Linked DNA regions of Homo sapiens: all the other regions are linked to region 3. Evidence: promoter capture Hi-C in 16 types of primary human blood cells and fetal thymus (Javierre and others, 2016). All regions are on one chromosome and are shown on one strand. Each heading gives the region's core, a stretch centred on a gene start or on the middle of the fragment in contact. The rest is flanking DNA. Distances are from core to core; before and after follow the strand shown. Region 1 holds the start of ITGA6-AS1 (ITGA6 and PDK1 antisense RNA 1). Region 2 holds the start of PPIG (peptidylprolyl isomerase G). Region 3 holds the start of METTL8 (methyltransferase 8, tRNA N3-cytidine). Region 4 holds the start of BBS5 (Bardet-Biedl syndrome 5). Region 5 holds the start of METTL5 (methyltransferase 5, N6-adenosine).

What was found. Contacts are between HindIII fragments. The CHiCAGO score rates a contact against its expected background, and 5 or more counts as called.
Region 1: a contact is called between the fragment with the promoter of ITGA6-AS1 here and the fragment with the promoter of METTL8 in region 3, in 5 of 17 cell types (fetal thymus, total CD8 T cells, total CD4 T cells and 2 more). The highest score is 11.8, in fetal thymus.
Region 2: a contact is called between the fragment with the promoter of PPIG here and the fragment with the promoter of METTL8 in region 3, in 7 of 17 cell types (naive CD4 T cells, total CD8 T cells, non-activated CD4 T cells and 4 more). The highest score is 11.9, in naive CD4 T cells.
Region 4: the fragment with the promoter of BBS5 here is called in contact with the fragment with the promoter of METTL8 in region 3 in 4 of 17 cell types (activated CD4 T cells, naive CD8 T cells, total CD8 T cells and 1 more); the score reaches 7.4 in activated CD4 T cells.
Region 5: a contact is called between the fragment with the promoter of METTL5 here and the fragment with the promoter of METTL8 in region 3, in 2 of 17 cell types (non-activated CD4 T cells and naive B cells). The highest score is 7.6, in non-activated CD4 T cells.

What each region holds. Positions count from the first base shown.
Region 1 is chr2:172,464,482-172,467,285 of GRCh38, forward strand. ITGA6-AS1 (ITGA6 and PDK1 antisense RNA 1) reads right to left here and starts at 1,541. Exons shown (of 2, transcript NR_157573.1): 1 at 1,343-1,541; 2 at 1-93. ITGA6 (integrin subunit alpha 6) reads left to right here. Exons shown (of 26, transcript NM_000210.4): 2 at 1,058-1,182. PDK1-AS1 (PDK1 and ITGA6 antisense RNA 1) reads right to left here. Exons shown (of 4, transcript NR_199657.1): 4 at 1-93. RefSeq lists an enhancer at 1,782-1,951. The HindIII fragment of the contact is 13,641 bases long and covers 1-2,804 here.
Region 2 is chr2:169,583,001-169,585,701 of GRCh38, forward strand. It overlaps PPIG (peptidylprolyl isomerase G), which reads left to right and starts at 1,351. Exons shown (of 14, transcript NM_004792.3): 1 at 1,351-1,490. RefSeq lists an enhancer at 1,267-1,316. The HindIII fragment of the contact is 789 bases long and covers 1,076-1,864 here.
Region 3 is chr2:171,432,540-171,435,239 of GRCh38, forward strand. It overlaps METTL8 (methyltransferase 8, tRNA N3-cytidine), which reads right to left and starts at 1,451. Exons shown (of 10, transcript NM_001321154.2): 1 at 1,344-1,451. DCAF17 (DDB1 and CUL4 associated factor 17) reads left to right here and starts at 1,687. Exons shown (of 14, transcript NM_025000.4): 1 at 1,687-2,164; 2 at 2,544-2,647. The coding sequence starts at 2,039. RefSeq lists enhancers at 685-854, 832-1,392, 1,065-1,134, 1,954-2,513 and a silencer at 1,445-2,354. The HindIII fragment of the contact is 4,328 bases long and covers 1,441-2,700 here.
Region 4 is chr2:169,478,121-169,480,820 of GRCh38, forward strand. It overlaps BBS5 (Bardet-Biedl syndrome 5), which reads left to right and starts at 1,374. Exons shown (of 12, transcript NM_152384.3): 1 at 1,374-1,492. The coding sequence starts at 1,434. RefSeq lists enhancers at 1,188-1,297, 1,308-1,647. The HindIII fragment of the contact is 729 bases long and covers 1,313-2,041 here.
Region 5 is chr2:169,823,484-169,826,183 of GRCh38, forward strand. METTL5 (methyltransferase 5, N6-adenosine) reads right to left here and starts at 1,422. Exons shown (of 7, transcript NM_014168.4): 1 at 1,006-1,422. The coding sequence starts at 1,114. RefSeq lists a silencer at 1,968-2,171. The HindIII fragment of the contact is 10,424 bases long and covers 1-2,559 here.

The sequences.
Region 1 (2,804 bases), core at 291-2,790, 1.0 Mb after region 3:
TGGTTTATCTCTGTCCAGTCAGGTGTGTGTTCTTTGTCTTTGTTTCTTGTCCTAGTTGTTCCATGAGTCAGCCAGGCCTCAAAGATTGTAAACCTGATGGTGAGTAAAGGTGTTAGCAAAAGAGACCTAGCAACAAGGTCATTGGATCTCTAAAGAGCCTGTCAAGCTGTGAGATGGTGAAATTTTAAGGACTGTGGATTTGGACTGGGGGCCTCCTTATAGGAGATAAAAACACTCGGCTGGGGAGAAGAAGGAATATTACAGTGCCTAGTACATAAGTGGAGCTACACCAGTTGTCCCTGAATCCTTTGTGGGAGACTGATAGGATGAGAGAGGACGAACTCTTGTAATGTGACAAAAGTGCAAGGAAGTAAGAACTGACTTGGAAGAACAAACATCAACTTGTACACCTCAAATATATCTGCTTTTTATTTGTCCATTCTACCCTAATAAAACTGGAGGGAAAAAAAAAAAAGAATTGGAAAGAGGCCAAGGCTGCAAGTGAATAATTCAGTCGAGTTGTATCTTACTTACCATTAGGTTCTCTCAATTAGTATATAAACTGAAAATCTAAGATATAGTCAGAATTACCCTTGAAAACTACCTCAGGAAGGCACAGTGTTAGAAACTGACATATTATTGCTTATTACATTTAGTGTGGCCATTTTTTCCTTCCATTGTCACAAGTATTTGGTTTCTTCTCTTGAGTTTCATATGATATCCCTGGCATCATAGGGGCTTAGAGGTTGTATTCTTTGAAGAGGGTGTCTTTTAAACACCAGATCATACCCAGCAAGAAATGCTGATACTATGAGAGACAGGCCTATTTTCCTCGTTTTGGTATCCCCTCTTTGGCTTCCCCTGTTTAGTTGTGTTTGTGCGTTTTGCATGAACCAGCCATAGGACTCTACATTTGTTCTCACTCACTGCCTAAGCTGTTGAAGAATTAGTGGACTCCTAGACAAAGAATAATCCCACTATCTCCTAGTTCTGACTGATTTAACTGTTAAACGTATATTAAATTCAAATCTCCAAATTGTCTCTGTTTCATCAACAGGTTGCTCGTGGGGGCCCCGCGGGCAGAAGCGCTTCCACTGCAGAGAGCCAACAGAACGGGAGGGCTGTACAGCTGCGACATCACCGCCCGGGGGCCATGCACGCGGATCGAGTTTGATAACGATGGTGCGTTCCTTTCCCTCACTCAGCGTTCACTCCGGCAGCTTGCCTGTACTGTTTCCATGAGGGAGGAGAGTGGGGACAAACATTTATTCTTGTAGAGAGGACTTCTTTTAATTGCATCAGACTTGACTGTTTTTTATTTGCCCTGAAAATATTTACTTACTTTACTTCTGAATCATACTGGGATGCCGCGTGTTTTGCTGCTCCTCCTAACCGTGGTTTCTAAACCGATATGGTGTAGGGATGTTGCCACCTAGTGATGTGTTGAGGTTCTGCAGGAGGTTGTGGAAAAACTCATTTCATAGCAATGAAGAGAATGAATGAGCGTATCTTGTATTCATCAGCCAAAAGTTCTCACATGCTGTTAAAATATTTGGGAGAAAGACAGTTTTAAATATCAGACCCCTTTGGAATGAGAGCTGGCTAACAGAGATAAAGTTTTCCCTCCTGTCTCAGATAGAGACTTGTTTTGTTAAGGGCTCTGGATAGGTAGAAGATACCATGAGGTAGGCATGTTGACATCCAGTGTACCTGGCTTCTTGTAGGTTGAGCAGAGCAATTAGTGTACTGAGAAGCTCTAGCCAAACCTCGTTTGATATGTTCGGTCTAAGTAGATTTGCAGATTCGTGTCTATGTTCTTCTCTTGCTTCTTCATCTTTTAGAAATAACATTTGTTGGCCAGGCGTCGGTGGCTCACACCTGTAATCCTAGCATTTTGGGAGGCCGAGTTGGGTGGATCATTTGAGGTCAGGAGTTCAAGACCAGCCTGGCCAACATGGTGAAACCCCATCTCTACTAAAAATACAAAAATTAGCCAGGCGTGGTGGTGTACGCCTGTAGTCCTAGCTACTTAGGAGGCTGAGGCGTGAGAATTGTTTGAACCTGGGAGGCAGAGGCTGCAGTGAGCCAAAATCGTGCCACTACACTCCAGCCTGGGTGACAGAGCAAGATACCATCTCAAGAAAAGAAATAACATGTGTTCTTTTATTAGAAACTAATATGTGTTAATTTTAAGAAGCTGGTAAAATACACAGACCTATGAAGAATAAAAAAACCCACTGGCAATCTCAGTATCTAGACTTATTTTTTAACATTTTGGCATTTTTCCTTCTGTCTAAAGTTGTTTAATGTTTTTGTAATGATTCAAGATTAAAACCTGTGTCTGTATTGCTACTTATGGAGGAGTGCAAAATTTGGATATAGGTCACACAGTGGGTTTAAATTGATACTGAAATGAGCACCTGGTGGTGTTTGTGGTCCCCGTCTCTCTGACTAACAGTAACTCTCCTGTTTGGCATTGATACATTGTCAGCTACAAGATCCTAAAGTAAATCTGAGTCTTTTTCTTCCATCTCCAGTAAAGAAGAGAACATTTAATGCTGTTAAATAAAAAAATTGGGGAGTATATAGAGAAGTACCCATTTTTTTTGTTAGTTTGGATGGTAGCTGCAGTTTGGAATACTAGATTTTACATTGTTGCCTTAAGAGATGTATTTTGGAGGGCTCCCTTAGTCTTACAGTTTCACTTACCTTCTGCATTCAGGACCCTAGGTATCAAGAGAGGGCAAAGGGTATTGTTGGACAAAATAGGCAACTATATAGAGCTAAGTACTTTATGTTTCAAA
Region 2 (2,701 bases), core at 101-2,600, 1.8 Mb before region 3:
ATAGTTGAATTCATTTAAACTCCCACCAGCACTGTAAAATGTTCCTTTTTCTCCACAACCTCACCAGCACCTGTTATTTTTTGACTTTTTAATAATAGCCATTCTGACTGGTATGAGATAGTATCTCACTGCGGTTTTGATTTGCATTTTTCTGATGATTGGTGGTGTTGAGCTTTTTCATTATGATTGTTGGCTGCAAGTATGTCTTCTTTCGAAAAGCGTTGGCCGGGCGTGGTGGCTCACACCTGTAATCCCGGCACTTTGGGAGGCCAAGGAGGACGGATCACCTGAGGTTGGGAGTTTGAGACCAGCCTGACCTACATGGAGAAACCCTGTCTCTACTAAAAATACAAAAAATTAGCCAGGCCAGTCTGTGGCCCAGGGGTTGGGGACCCCTGTTTTAAGGTATTGCAGAATTGTCCCCTCCACACACAGCGAAGTGTAAATCCGTTTAATCTCTGAACTATCTAAAGATGAATATGCTGCTGCTCTCCTGCAATAAAGGGCAATGACTTAAAAGAGGTGGGGGTGGAGAGGCAGAAATGTCCTCTGTTTTACTGCTGTGTAAAACTGGTCACGCCCCTTAGAAGCACCACCACATGCCTAACTGTTGTTGATAATTAATTTACCTGATGCAAGTGAGTGAAAAATTTAAATGATCATAATTTACGTTGCCTTTAAACGACAGAACAATTTAAGTCCTCTAGTTAGCTAGTTCCTTTAAAACACACCCCACATCCCTACCAGAATCACTGCCCATCCCCCCCCACCCCCCCGCCCAAACAGCAATGGTTATTTATTTCTAACATAATCCGGGGACCCTTGCCCCTTAAAATAATTAAATAATATATGCCATATTTTCTCTAGAAGGCACTAGATTTGGCATCAAAAGACTTGCTTTGGCATTCAAGAACAGTGTGTTTGAGGAGGAGGCGTTTATCTTCCCTGAGCCTCAATTTCTTTATCTGTAAAACAACAAAGAACATCAAAGCTCTTTGTAATTTCTTCCTCTTTCCTCAAATAACACTTTGCTCATTACTGCGTTTTTAGAACTTATATCCTAGCGTTAAGTGGAAGCTTAACTGGAAGCTCCATGAAGGTAGGCCTTCCTTTCTGATAACCTAGCGTAAGATCAATAAATGTTTATTAAATGAGGCACTTTACTTCACAAAGGATATGGCATTTTAACGGTTACAAGCGTTCCCAGTCAACGCATCCACAAAGCATTAGGCCACCTATAAACTAGGAATTTAAAAGGCACCAAAATCCTAGAAGTCCTAGGAGGGCGTGGTGACGCAAGCAGGTGAACGCTGGCCGATGCTGACAACCCACTCCTGACGCGCTTCCGGTGCGACGCTGTCTCTCCATGCCAGGACTGAGTTGTGGGGGAGGGAGGCGGTTAGCGGGCTTTAGCGCCTTTTCTGGCGGCGGTAGATTTGAAGCGCTTCAAAGGACCGGACCCAGAGAAGAGGAAAACTCTACCGGTGCAGGTAAGTGGTATGAGGCTCAAGTTGTTCTGGCGGCGTCATTTCAGCAGTCCCTGCGTACGAAAGCGGGAAGGGCCTGGGAAGAGGGGCGGAGCCGGCGCGGCTGACCGGGTTGGGTTTACCGTCTTTCCCTCGAGGTATCGGGGCTGCTTGGGCCCAGAGGAAGTCCCTGAGGACCGCAGCAGTGCCTTTGCCGCTGTTGCAGAAGGAGAAGGCTTGCAGTCGAGCCCCGGGGCCTGGGGACGGTCCTTCCTCTGCCAGCCCCCGCCCTCCCCACTCAGGCGCACACCTCCCTCACTGACGCATTTTGCCGCACAAGCTGTAACATGGCGGCAGCGACTGCGGCCTGAACTCTAGGGAGCCGGGTTGATTTTTAAAGCTTCAAAATCCTAAGACTCAGCACTGTTGCGGGGTAGGTGGCGGGACTGGTGGGGAAGGGGGAGACAGCCTGACGTCCTGTCAGGCTAGGGTTGGAGAGTGACGGGCGAAGAGCCTGAATCACAGGGATTAAAATTGAAGACTAGCTTTCCTCCTCTTTCGACCTTTTCCTCTCACAGCACAGTGGCTGTCGTGCAGTTAAGTGGCAGAGGCCACTTTGTTAAGCATTTTTCTAAAACTCAAGTCCAGGGTCTTGAGCTCTCGCGAAGTTCCCCCGTGTTTCGGAGGAGCTGTGAGCTGCGCAGGCCTTTTAGGAGGAGATAATTACTCTTTAGGAGGAAGATGATGATTTCGGGGCTCAGTATGCCTGAAGGGGAAGTATGCTAATTTGGTTCTTGGTTAGTCTTTTTTTTTGAGACGGAGTCTCGCTCTGTCGCCTAGGCTGGAATGCAGTGGCGCGATCTTGGCTCACTGCAACCTCCGCCTCCTGGGTTCAAGTGATTCTTCTGCCTCAGCCTCCCAAGTAGCTGGGACTACAGGCACGTGCCACCATGCCCGGCTAATTTTTTGTGTTTTTAGTAGAGACGGGTTTTCACCGTGTTAGCCAGGATGGTCGATCTCCTGACCTCGTGATCCGCCCACCTCGGCCTCCCAAAGTGCTGGGATTACAGGCGAGAGCCACCGCGCACGGCCAGCTCATGTTTAGTCTTAAGGAGCAAAGTCTAGATGTGCTGGCAAGGAGTATGCACAATCGTTTTGGAAATGCTATAAAAGCACCATTTTGTGCATTGATTTTAATTTCTTTCCACGATAGCCCTTTCTGTGTGTAACCAACA
Region 3 (2,700 bases), core at 201-2,700:
TATCTTTTCTGGGTTCCAGTTTTCTCAGTGACAGCTGCATTCATGAATTACCAAATTAACTATTGTAGCACTCTCTAAAAATATACAAAGCACTCTACCGTATGCTGTAAATAAGTCATGAAAAATCAGCAAAAGCTCGAGCCCTGAAGGAAATTCAGCAGGGTTAAAAAGAGATATGGCCAATGTTTACTAAACACTTAAACTGTGACCCAACACACTCACCCAGTACTGTAAGTACTCACTTAATGTCATCAACAGATTTTTGGAAACTGACTGTAAGCAAAATGACATATAACAAAACCATTTTTACCATAGGCCAATTGATATAAACAAAAGTTAAGTTCCTATAACATATTTCTGGTCACAAAAACATCACCAAACTCCTAAATACAAACCAAAACACTTCTAATATTAAACATTGAAATAAATGGGAGCTATACATACATTTAAGGAAGATTAATAAAAACAAGTAAGATAGTTATTTACCTAATTATTCCAGTTCAGGGTCGAGGGTGGCTGAAGCCTATCCCCTCAGCTCAGGGTGCAAGGTGGGAACCAACCCTTGGACACGACGACATTCCATCGCAGGGAGCACTCACACTCACACTCAGACAGGAAACACAGACAAGGCCAATTCATCCAGCCTGCACTGAGATGTGGGAGGCAGTACCCTGGGGTACCTGGTGAAAACCCATGCAGACGTGGGGAGAAGGGGCAAGATCCACACAAACAGTAGCCCCGGTAGGAAATTATTATTTTTTCTCATCAAGTTATACAAAATGACACTGAACGAAAAAATGCGATTCAAGGACCTGCTGTACTGTACTTTTTGCTCTGCCAGTCAGGTGCGATCGCTGGCTTTCTTTGAGCACCTATGAACAAGAGGTAGCATGCCCAAGTCCACGTGGGAGATACAGCGGCCCCACCCTTAAGGGACTTAGAGCATGGCGGTGGGACACATGTGGTGCAAGCTTGCTGAAAGTTTAGTGTGCTGGGAACTTTGAACATACAGGCAGGGCTAGTTAACAAAGTATATCTTTTACTTAGAGACATCGACGAGGAATATCTTAGGCCGTCCAATAAGAATGTAAGCATTTCATATTTTATTCCCTATAAAGAAAAAAGAATGGAGGCGAGAGGAAATGAAATGAAGCAATTATCGCAAAACCAGTCAGTGTCCCCGCAGGCCACCCAAGGACAAGCCTCCGGGAAAGAGTAACTCAATCCCAGTTTGGAGGGTGAAACTAAGAGTGAATGGGAAGCCAGCATCTTCCTAATACAAAAGCACAGTTTACCGTCCCCCTCAGCCAACATGCGGCTGAAGGGAAAGCCGCGGGGCGTACCTTTAGCACGGGACGCTGCTTTGGGGGGATCGCCCTCGACACAGCGCCCCTCCCGGCACCTGGCCAGAACCTCCCAGGGCGAAGGTCGGGGCCGAGAAGCTTGTGAGTACCGGGGCAGTGAGGGAGGGATCCCTAAGTGCAGGGCGCACACACGGGGCGGAGACCTGGAGGCGGCAGCACCGCGCCCCCAGGGCTCTGCCCAGCTAGCCACTCGCAGCACAGAGAAGCGCGCCCGCAAGACAGCGCAGCCTCCGCGGGCCGGAGGAGGCGGGGCCGCGGCAGGCAGAGGCAGGGCCGGGCAAGCCCTCGCTCCCCGCCGCCTGACGGGAATTGTAGTTCCTGGGAGAAGCCGGGCTGCCTCACGAGGCACTAGGAACTACATTTCCCGGTGAGAGAGCGGCTCCGGCCGGCCGCGCGGTACCGGAGCGTCGCACTGTCAGCGGCCAGAGAGCCTGGGGCAGATCGAAAAGGGAGTGCTTCTTCCCTTCTCTCCGCGCTCTGGCGGTGCAAGCGGCTCTGCTTTCCCTCGCCCCGCCGTCGGGTGCTCCCTGCCCGCCTCCCCGTGTCAGCTTTCCCTGGGCCCCGCCGGGAAAGTCTGGGCCTCGAAATTCGAAGGCAGCGGCGGCTGCCCAGCACGGGAGTGTGGGGCGCGCCACTCGGCGGCCCAGCCTACCCAGGGCCCGGCCCGCGCCTCCATGGGCCCGACCCGGAAGCCCAACGTGTGCAGCCGGCTGAGTCGCCGGGCGCTGGGCTGCTTCTCGCGCGACGCAGGCGTGGTGCAGAGGACCAACCTGGGCATCCTGCGGGCGCTGGTGTGCCAGGTGACCGCCAGCCGGCCGGGGCGGGACGGAGGGCCGCGGGCGCGCGGCGGCCGAGCCTCCTGCGGGGATGCGGTTTTAACGCGCTGGGGCCTCCCTTTATAGGGTCACATGTGATGGGGAGGAGGATACAAGCCCGGAATCTGGGATAGGTGGTAATAGGGCCACCAGCTGCTTTTAGTTTTACGCTTCTTATGTCTTACCTGGAAACAATTATTCTAAAAGTTGGTCACCTCATTAAGCCAAAACATGAGGGCAGAGTGGAGGAAGGATGCAAAAAGTTTTAAAATAATATAGGTGACATTATGTTGCTTTGAAAATTTAAAATCTAACTTAAAGCCTAAGAGTTCTTTCCTGAACGGAAATTCTTTATGTCTTTTAGGAAAGTACTAAATTTAAGAATGTCTGGACAACTCATTCCAGGTCACCTATAGCCTATGAGAGAGGAAGAATATATTTTGACAATTATCGGCGCTGTGTCAGCAGGTAACTTTTTATTGATAATTTTGCTGTAATTCACCTCACTGTTGATCTTAACT
Region 4 (2,700 bases), core at 124-2,623, 2.0 Mb before region 3:
TGCAGAGGTCTGGGGAAACAGTGTTCCAGGCAAAGGAAGGGGGCCCTCCAAAGTCTCTGAGCCCTGTCTGGCAAGAGAGCAGCCAGAAGTGAGGGTGGTTGGAGGTTGCAGACATAGGCAGGGCCACATTGAGCTAGGCCCAGGTAAGGAATTTGAAGCTTTAACTCTAAATTTCTTTTTTCCTCATTCTAAAACCATCCCAATAAAATTTATAAAAGTAATCAGGGAAGAAAGTGTGGGGGAGGGGACAAAAATAAACCAAGCTTGCAGCCAATTCGGCATTAATCATGAGGTCAGCTTCCTCTCTGACCTGCTTGCTCAGAGTTGTTTGGTGCCTATTGTCCTAGAATCATGCAGACCCTGTCACAAGATTATAGTTCCCTTCTATTGCTCTATAGAGAACAACTTGAACATTATGAAATACTCAGTTTTCCCTTTGAGATAGTCTTTCAGATCCTGCATACCAATGAAACTACTGCCTCAGCTGGCCTGAAGGATCCCACTGATGCCAGCTGGTCTGAGGAACCCGTGAGAAACTGATTCAGCAAAGAATGCAGCTTCCCTATCCTGATGATTTCATCTCCCTTACTCCGACCAATCAAGGACCCCAATTTTCCAGCCCCTCGCCCTCTGTGATCCTCTTAAAAACCTCAGCCCAGAACTCTTGGGAAGATAGATTCGAGGATCTCTTCCCATCTCTTTGCTAGGTGCCCTGCAATCATTAAACTCTTTCCCTGCTGCAAACTCTGCTGTCTTCGTGTAATGGGTTTGTTACTGCACAGCAGGCATACGAACCTGTTGATCCTATATCTCTATCACCTAGGCTGGAGGGCAGAGGCACGATCATAGCTCCCCGCAGCCTCCACCTCTTGGGTTCAAGAGATCCTCCCGCCTCAGCCTCCCGAGTAGTTGAGCCTGCAGGCGTGCACCACCACCCCTGGCTAATTTTGGGTTGGTTTTGTTTGTTTGTTTGTGTTTGTAGAGATGAAGTTTCGCTATGTTGCCCAGGCTAGTCTCGAATTCCTGGCCTCAAGTGATCCTCCAGCCTCGGCCTCCCAAACTGCAGGGATTACAGGCAGAAGCCACCATGCCCGGCTAATAACCTGAATCTCTTGACGGTGAAGAGAAATAAGGAGAGGGGTAAAATGGCTAAAGGATGTCTGTTTGGAGGCAAGGAAGGTCGCCCAGAGGTCAGGCACGCTCCCCTTGGCGGACACAGCTGGGCTTCTCAGAGACTCCTAAATCCTGCCTCGCATCTCAAATCGGCTTAACGACGCGAAAGAGCTGGGCGACGCGCGCGCACTCTCGCGGAAGCTTGAGTCTCGGCGCCCGCCGTAGACGTCGTGACAGAGGCGGCCCGTTGCCTTGGAGCCAGAGAGACGCAGCTAGGCCTGCACGGCTGTGGAGAGATCCTGCCACGGGCCTTGTTCACCATGTCGGTGCTGGATGCGCTTTGGGAGGATCGGGATGTCCGTTTCGACCTGTCCGCGCAGTGAGTTTCCAAGATTCCCGAGGGATCTTCAACCCTGTAGAGGGCGCCGCCGTGCGCGTTAGGGACCCGCGGGCGGAGACTGCACCTCCGCAGCTCGCGGCCCTGGTGAGGGTGGGAGGCTTGCGCCGGTCGTCCGCGCCTCGAGAGACCTCAGGCTGGTTGGGCCACTGTGGCCCTCTCGAGGCCGGCGCCGCGGCAAGAGCGCATCGGCATTACACAGTTTTGGTCCCATGCGACCTCCGGTTCCCCCATCCTGGCCCGCGGGACGGATCAGGAATGTGAACCTGAGCACGACCGGGGCCACCCGGGGCTTAGCGTCCCGTATACACCCACGTGAGCTTGGGATTTCAGTTTCATGGAAGGAACGTAGGTCAGGGACTCAGGAAACTAGGGTTCTAAAAGTAGATGTGTAATATCGACCCACAGTGTGGGCCCTTGAGCAGATGTCTTCATCATTCAAGCTAGAATCCTCATGTCTGTAAAATAAGGGAGGTGGGAGTAAGGCAGTCGTCAAAAATTACTAACCGCGCAAACTTTATGTCCTTGGTAAGCTTTCATCTAGTTATTCATATCAGTCACCAACAAGAAGGAGTCTTCTTTTGCAACCTGTTTTTGGAAATTATCATACATTAAATAGAAACCATGTTTTTGGAAAGTATCGTAAAGAAAAAGTGGTTAGAAACCTCCTACTCCAAAATCCAGGGCGGGAAATGCCGGTTGGGTTACTAAGTGTTGAGAAACGCTAAAGCTAAGATTCCTGGATTAATGGCATGGAGCTTCTTAGCTACTTCTTATCGTTCCTTATCATGGACCTCCCCTCCTTAGGTGGAATCGTTCCTTATCATGGACCTCACCTCCTTAGATGGAATCGTTCCTTATCATGGACCTCACCTCCTTAGATGGAAAAATGAAATATTGATAAATTTCTCAGGTTAAGTATAGCTAGATATCTAATGCTAACATGTTAGACCCTTTAAGAAGATGAAAGAGAAAGGAATTCGTAAAATTACGGACTGTAGTAACATATTGCGCACTTTCTATGACATTTTCTGTCATTCTTTTTTTTTTTTTTTTTTTTTTTTTTTTGAGACAGAGTTTCGCTCTTGTTGCCCAGGCTGGAGTGCAATGACGCGATCTCGGCTCACTGCGACCTCCGCCTCCCAGGTTCAAGCAATTCTCCTGCCTCAGCCTCCAGAGTAGCTGGGATT
Region 5 (2,700 bases), core at 172-2,671, 1.6 Mb before region 3:
TGGAACTGGAAAAAACTCCTTGCAGGTACTCTCAGAAAATTAATTTTCCTAAGGAGCCAGCCTCAGTGGCTCATGCCTGTAATCTCAGCACTTCTTGAGGCCCCAGTGGGAAGATCGCTTCAGCCCAGGAGTCTGAGACCATCTTGGGCAACATAGCAAGACGCTGTCTCTACAAAAAATAAAAAATATTAGCCAGGCATGACGGTGCATGCCTGTAGTCCCAGCTACTCGGGAGGCTTAGGTAGGAGGATCACTTGAGTCCTGGAGGTCAAGGCTGCAGTTGCCGTGATCATGCCACTGCACTCCAGCCTGGGTGACAGAGTGAGACCCTTATCTCAAAAAATAATAATAATAAAATTTTTTTCCCCTAAGGTTTCCCAATGACTTCGGTAACATAAATATATGTTGTCCTGTATTCTCTCTTGTACTCCCAGTATCAATATCTGGCATGAAGCAACAATGCTAATGCTCAGAAAATCTGTTAAAATATGCATGCTCATCTTTACACAGCACATACTCTGATTTTGTTAAACTATCATTCCACTATCAACTCTGGTATTCATTTCTAGGGCAGAGTATATAGCACAAGAATCCTTGCGTAGGCAATTAGTAGCAATGGGAAACTGATCCTTATTTAGTAAATGTTTACTGAGCTCCTAAATAGTACCAGCGACTCTTCTGGGCACTGGGAATTCAAGTATGAACAAGTCTAACAAATTCCTTGTCCTCAGAGATTGTAATGTGAGAAGAGAAAAAAACACATTAAAAAGATGTCTGGCAGTGTTAAGGGATATGCAGAAAACTAGACAGTAAAATGATAGTGTGTATGTCTGTGGAGGGTGTGCCTTGAGCTGCAGTGTCAAGGAAGGCCTCTCTAACGCGACAGGTGATCTTAGGGCAGAATTTCTCTAGACATTCTCTGTATCCAAATAACTGTTCTATTTTTATCACAGAGTAGACTGGACTAACGCCGAAAGCCGGGGCGTGGTGAACCAGCCGCCCTACCTGCAATGTGCGGCCTGGTAGGATACTGTTCCAGAAGTAGCTTGGGCTTTTCAAATCCATCCACTTGTTGCAGGCGACTCTCTAGTTCCTTAAGCCTTACTTTCTTCATTTTGTTTTAAAGTATGGACTCGTAGGGTTTGAAGGCACAGGATCTGCGGAGAAATCTATTGAACTGGGATCTTGTTTCCTCCCTACCCCCAACCTTCTCCCTTTTTCAGCACCGCTGGCCGGACCCGAAGACGCGCCCTAAGGAGACGCCCGGACGCAGGGCACGGGGCGAGCCTCTGACCCACCTCCCGGCTAACCCAAGCCGCCCCAGGAGACGGCGGCGGCGCACTGCTGGAGCAGCCTCAGGATCCCTCGCGCCACGACCACGCACCTCTGGAGGCGACCCGCACCTCGGCCGGTGCCGGAAGCGCCAGGCCGCACGCGCGCACGCGTTCGCCGCCCAGCGGCCCGGCGCCGAGCTGCAGCGTTTATCTTGAGCCGGGGTTCCGCTGGCCACCTGGGGGCCTCATTGCCCCATCCCCTCCGCCTGCAAAGCCTGCGCTACTTGCTGACCCACCGCCAGTCCTCGCCGCCTGTCGCGTGCTCATTACCCTCTAGTTTGCCATGAGTACCTGCGGGCCCTCAAAGGATGGGGAAAGACAGAGTGAAAGGGATGCGGGAGAGAAAGTCACAGTCACTTTGTTGTATGGCCCAGAGTGACTCTTCTTGTTTCCCAAGTCTCGGCTCAAAAAGTAGCGATCTCCATTCACCTTTACCTCCTTCTCCATTCTCATGCCTTATTTTATTGTAACTTTGTTTCCCAATTTTTAGGTCATTTGTGTCACTTGCAATTCTCACAGGAGTGGTGATGTCAAAGAAACCCAAAGAAGAGATAGTGGAGAGGCAGGGCGCGGCGGCTCACGCCTGTAATCCCAGCACTTTGGGAGGCCGAGGTGGGTGGATCACGAGGTCAGGAGATTGAGACCATCCTGGCTAACACGGTGAAACCCTGTCCCTACTAAAATTACAAAAAAATTAGCCGGGCTTGGTGGCGGGCGCCTGTAGTCCCAGTTACTCGGGAGGCTGAGGCAGGAGAATGGCGTGAACCCGGAAGGCGGAGCTTGTAGTGAGCCGAGATCAAGCTACTGCACTCCAGCCTGGGAGACAGAGCGAGACTCCGTCTCAAAAAAAAAAAGACAGTGGAAATGAAAATAAAAGAATAGGTAGTGGTGTCAAATACTGGAAAGAGGTCGGGCTTCATAAAGTAGGAGCAGAAATTAAGTTGTAGCAGATTGTGGAGCGAATGGAAATTTAGGAAGAAGAAAGAGTAAATGTGAACAATTAAACGTGGCCCCGGAAGCGGTGGCTCACCCCTGTGATCCCAACATTTTGGGAGGCCGAGATGGGCGGATTGCTTGAGACGGGAGTTTGAGACCAGCCTGGGCAACATAAGGAGACCCTGTCTCTACTAAAAATACAAAAATTAGCTGGGTCTGATGACGCGAGCCTGTGGTCCCAGCTGCTCGGGTGGCTGGGGTGGGAAAATCGCTTGAGCCCGGGAGGCAAAGCTTCCAGTGATCTGAAATTGCGCCACTGCACTCCAGTCTGGTCGACAGTGAGACCCTGTCTCAAAAAAAAAAAAAAAAAAAAGAAAGAAGAAAAGAAAGAGAAAGAGAAAGGTGGCCTACGAAAAGAATGGTTGGATGC